Regions from separate parts of the Homo sapiens genome. Here region 1 is linked to region 2. Evidence: promoter capture Hi-C in 16 types of primary human blood cells and fetal thymus (Javierre and others, 2016). All regions are on one chromosome and are shown on one strand. The core of a region is centred on a gene start or on the middle of the fragment in contact, and the rest is flanking DNA. Distances in the headings are between cores, read along the strand shown.

Region 1 (2,700 bases), core at 80-2,579, 100 kb after region 2:
TGAAACCACCTATGTTATTTATGGGGTTTTTCTTGTCTTTGTGTTCTTTCTTTTCTTTTTTTCTTTTCTTTTCTTTTTTCAGGGTCTTGCTGTCGCCCAGGCTGGAGTGCAGTGACCCAATCATAATTCACTGTAGCTTTGAACTGCTGGGCTCAGGTGATCCTCTTGCCTCAGATTTTTGAGTCGCTGGTACTACAGGTGCATGCCACCACACATCCAGTTAATTTTTTAAAAAAATTTTTAGAGGCCAGGCGCGGTGGCTTACACCTGTAATGCCAGCAATTTGGGAGGCCGAGGTGGGTGGATCGCGAGGTCAGGAGTTCGAGACCAGCCTGGCCAATATAGTGAAACCCCGTCTCTACTAAAAAAAAATACAAAAATTAGCCGCACATGGTGGCACTCACCTGTAGTCTCAGCTGCTCAAGAGGCTGAAGCAGGAGAATCGCTTGAACTGGGGAGGCGGAGGTTGCAGTGAGCCAAGATCGCACCACTGCACTCCAGCCTGTGTGACAGGCTGGCTTCAAACTCCTGGCCTCAAGTGATTCTCCCACCTTGGCCTCCAAAAGTACTGCGATTACAGGCATGTTATTTGTTATTTGAAGGAACAAAATGTTTTGGCTTAGATTCTGTTTCTTATTTAGGTCACAAATAAACCCTTCAGAAGAAATAAAGTAATAATAAAATAAAGAGATGGTGGAATAGATGAAAAGATAGATCATCTGACTCTGTTCCCTGCCACGTTTGGAATCCTGTTGAGAAGAGAGAGAAGAAGCAACTACATACGGGGGACATATCCATCACTTGAGATTCTAGCTGACGACGTCCGAATATATCTCAACTCACAAAGTAAACGCCAGATCATATGCCATGATGACTTAATCATGTTACTATAAAGAAAATATTTAAACAGGAGAGATTTTAAAAATTGCAATTCATCTTGTGACAAATTACTTAAAATAATATATTTGCCTGGAAAGAACACATCTAATTTATATATTAGCAGACACTGTTGTGCACCGTGGTGAGAAGGGATATGTAAGTGGGATGATGACTTTTCCTTTCTGTAAAGAGGTTTCTATTTTTACTTTAAAGAAAACATGTTCAAAGAAAGTTGCTCTGAATAACTTAAATTACAGCGCTCCATAGACACTGGCACTATGCCTGGTTCTTTTTTATTGAGTACCAGACATTGTCTATGAAAAATAGTAAAGATAAGTTGATGCCTAGGATTATGCTATCTTTCTCCTAAGGGAGTTTTCGTTTGCTTTGGCAGGCTGCTGTGGCACTAGCAATCTTGTATCACCATTATCGACTCAGGGATTTAGATGATTCATGGCTGGATGTCAGAGACTTCTGATGTTAGTTAAAATGAGTAAAATTGTTCCACTCTATATCTTTCTCAAAACTCATAGGACAGCCATTACAACAGTGAGTTTCTTGTTTCTTTTGTTTTTGTTTTTTTCCCACCCATATATCCTAACTTACACTCTATGGCAGCCCAAATCCTGGAACTACACAGCAAAGGCAAGCAGAAAAGGACTAAGACAAATCCTCTTTATCTAGTCAGTGGACAAAGTGTGGGGGTCCTGTAGGATTGTGAATGTGAAGGGAATCCTCATTTTCTTTCTTTTAGTAATCTCCTGGCCCTGCCCTGTGGCAAGTCATGAAGCTGCACTTTTGCAACAGCAGCAGCAGTGGTAGGCTTGCAAGCACCTCAAACTCAGAGAAAATCCTTTTTTATTACCAGAGGAACTGGAAAAAGATGTCCCTGTGATCTGAAGAATGTTGGGGGAATCTCTATTAATCGTTTTCTTTCTTTTTTCTCTCTGCATTCTGCTCCTGAGGCAGACCCCATTTTGAGAAGTACACAACAACATGGAGAGGCTGAAACCCCAGCTTTTTAGCCGGAAGACCATGAAAAGAAGCCCTTAAGAACTAGAAAGTTTTGGGGAAGTCATGGAGAAGAGAGAGCTGGGGAAATGGATTCCTTAAATCTTTGTGTGAAGTCACTTCTGAGCTAATTGTAGGGGGAATTGATATGAAGCAGCACCGCAAAGGTTTTGAGAACCAAACCATAGTGTAGACCACTGCCCATGTGCCAAACTAGCCTTTGGGTGGGACATAAATAAAGTGAACCAAAATAGCACTGCAAAGGTTTTCAAAACAAAACTGACTTTGGAACCATAGAACAGAGAAGGTAGATTGGGATTTGTAATCTTAAACTACAAAGACTGGTTACCTGCTAAAACTAAAGATCAAATTATCCAGAGGATCTTAACAGAACCCAGAGTCTCATAACATAATATTCAAAATGTCTAGGAAACCATTCAAAATTCCTTGACATATAAAGAATAAGGACATTCTTAACAATTCTCAATAGAAAAGAGAATCAACAGTTAGCTCAGAGATGACCAGAAGTTAAAATTATCAGACAAAAACTTTAAAGCATCCATTCTAATTATGCTCCATGAAGTAAAAGCAATATGCTTGAAATGAATAAAGAAAGGAGTTCTCAGCAAAGAAATAGAGGCTGTAAAAAAGAACAAAATGTAAAATTTAGAACTGAAACATAAAATGAAAATATTCACTAATGGGCTCAATAGCAGAAAGGAGATGGCAGAGAAAAGAGTGGGGGAACTTAAAGACAGATCAGTAGAAATCATTAAATCTGAAAAACGAAGACAAAAACCATTTTTTAAA
Region 2 (2,700 bases), core at 172-2,671:
GGATTAATCTATCCCTAATGAATCTCTCCCGAGAAGCTTTTCCCTCCAAAGGTCTATCTTTTTCCAAGACGTTTATTCAGGGAGGTATCCTTCATATCTCCCTGAAAAGAAAGAAAAGTAAATAGTGGCTAATGCTTTTAACAATGATTAAAAAAATCAGAAAGGTCAAGGCTTTAAGGTCATTTAATGTGAAGAGGAAATAAGATAAATGTTCAGCATTTAAGGATTATCACTAACCCAACTTTTCATAAACACAGAATAGTGGAGGTGGAACCTGCAGAGACTTTTATTCAGGGAACATCCACTGCGGGACAGGCAGATGCTTTGGTATCCAGGCTGCTCCGCGCCGCCAGCTGCCCAAGTAATCCTCACAACAGCCCGCAGAGGTAGGTATTAACCACCCTTTGTTTTACAGGTGAGGAAACAGAGGCACAAGACGGTCAGGTAACCGGCTTGGAGTGATGAATGAAACTAAAATAAGCGCCGACCTCGAAGCTCATTTGGTCTTTCCCCAACCCCATGCGGCCTCATTAAAGAGACTTTTTTGATTAGCTATGGAGAAAACGTTCTTCATCAAACATGAAATGCAATCCGGAAGGCACAGGTTTCTCTCTCTCTCTCTCTCTCTCTCTCTCTCTCTCTCTCTCTCTCTCTCTCTCTCTCTCTCTCTCTCTCTCTCTCTCTCTCTCTCTCTCTCTCTCTCTCTCTCTCTCTGTCTGTATGAAGTGGCTTCTGGGGCCCCACGAAGCAATGTTCCCCCAAACAGCCCCGGACGAGGGTGTCTATAATTCATCCTGTTATAATTAACCCCGGGGTTACGGTATTGCTTCTAAAGCCCTTGTTGAAATGCAGATATGGACCTCGCAGGATTGACACGATCTCTCAATTACACCTAATTAAAGAGCTGGCTCTTTGAGAATCTGACCCGACTGGGCCAGGAGTGGGAAAGGCGGGGGCTGCCGGTTGGGGTGAGGGATAGGGTTCTGCAGTCCCGGGAAGGCAGGTGAAGGGTGGGGATCAGGATTGGAAGAGTCACTGGGTGCTCGGTGAGACGAGGGAGGTTGGAGCTGAACTAAAACAAAGTTTGACTTCTGGACAATTATCCAGGGAGAGGGCGGGGAACACACCTTGCCCGGACTGTCTGGGAATCCCATTGACAGGTCATCTCAGGTTCACCATCTTCCTGTCGTGGGCTCCTCCAGGGAGGCCACCCGGGAGCAATTAAACTGGGCCACACCAGCCACCTCCCACAGCAGCGGGGTCCGCAGATTTAACCCTTTCCCCCCAGATTCCGGCACTGGGTGCCGCGCTCTCTCCCCCAGCACCGCGCCCGCGCCCCCGGCTCCCGGACTGGGCATGCTCAGTAGCCGCCCGCTTCGTGCTCCCAGGGAAGCCTCTGCACGCCCTCCCCCGCTGCTCTCGGTCGCCTCCTCGCCGCCAGCCGCCCCGGGTGCATCCCGGCTTGCTCCGCTCCACGCGACCCAGATTCCTGCCCCGCCCCCGCCCCTTCCGCGCCCGCAGCCAGTGCGGCAGCCGCGGCCGCCCCTGTCCAGCCTCGGCGCCCGGGACCGAGCGCGTCGCTCGCCGCCGCGGAGCGCGTAGCCGGAGCGCCTGGGGAAGGCGGAGATGAAGACCACGCCGCCGCGCGCCGGGAGCTGCTGAGCCTACCGCCGCCAGAGTCCAGGTGATTGGCGACCCCAGAGGAGCCTAGGGAGTAGGGGCGAATGCCCTTGGGGAGGAGAGAGGTGCGGCGAGGACGCGAGGCATCACGCAAGCTGCGCTGTGCCTGGGAGGCAGCAGAAATGCTAAGCATCGGGGGCAGAGAGGGAACGGGAATGAAAGTGCACTCTGCCTTGGTGCAGGGGCTCCGGGGTCACCCAGGACAGTGATTTCCCCTTCTATCCTGTCCTCCCAATTAACACCCGAGAGGCTGCAGGTCGGCGCGAGAGGCTGTTTGCATCTCGGCCCGGGCGTAGGTCGCCTAGCGACCTAACGCCGAGGGCTCGGGGAAGGGATCCCAGACAGAGCCAAAATGGAAGGCGGGACAAGGGCGGCCTGGCTGGGGCGAGGGGCTGGTCTGGGTCCCTGGGAACCCCTTGCCTTGTGGGCTTCGGTCTCCAGGGAGGAGCTAGGCAGCCGGGCTGCGGGGCCGCCGGACTGTGGGGTCCTCCGCGCAGCGAGCTGGGAGGAGCGGTCGGCTGGGCTGTTGAGCTGCGCCTCCTCCAACTGCTGGGAAACTCCGCACTTCAATATTGGAGCATCTCTTTCCCGGGCAGGTAGAATTGGACAGCCGAGTGGGGAGTGACAGCTGACAGCTGACGGGGCTGTTAAAAGCAGAGCAGTGGAGTGTGGTGGTGGGGTGAGCTGTTGTGGGTGCTTTTTTTTGTTTTCCAAGTGTGGGTACGGGCTGTTCTGACTCAGTGTTTATGCTCAACCTCTAAGCGGCGAGTTCGGTAACACATCTTATGAATATTTCAGGAACGACCTCACGGGCTCACTTGCTTCAGATCAAGTTTAATGAATATGTTGTCAGCCTTTCTGCTCTGCACAGTGCCCTGAGCTTTCCACATTTCATCCCTTTCCCCCACCACCTAGGAAAATACGCTGCTAACCCCCAGTGGGCCGTAGATTGGTACTATCAATTGAGTCTGTCATTTGGAGAGACCAATTTTGGGCAGGCATCCAGGCATTGTTCTGCAT

The links. Contacts are between HindIII fragments. The CHiCAGO score rates a contact against its expected background, and 5 or more counts as called.
Region 1: a contact is called between a fragment that was not itself captured here and the fragment with the promoter of ELMOD1 in region 2, in 1 of 17 cell types (endothelial precursors). The highest score is 9.6, in endothelial precursors.

What each region holds. Positions count from the first base shown.
Region 1 is chr11:107,689,948-107,692,647 of GRCh38, forward strand. No RefSeq gene overlaps it. Among named protein-coding and RNA genes, the nearest start is that of SLN, 21 kb to the right of the region's middle. The HindIII fragment of the contact is 3,358 bases long and covers 1-2,700 here.
Region 2 is chr11:107,589,726-107,592,425 of GRCh38, forward strand. ELMOD1 (ELMO domain containing 1) reads left to right here and starts at 1,422. Exons shown (of 12, transcript NM_018712.4): 1 at 1,422-1,684. RefSeq lists silencers at 1,305-1,414, 1,475-1,614 and an enhancer at 1,865-1,924. The HindIII fragment of the contact is 4,180 bases long and covers 35-2,700 here.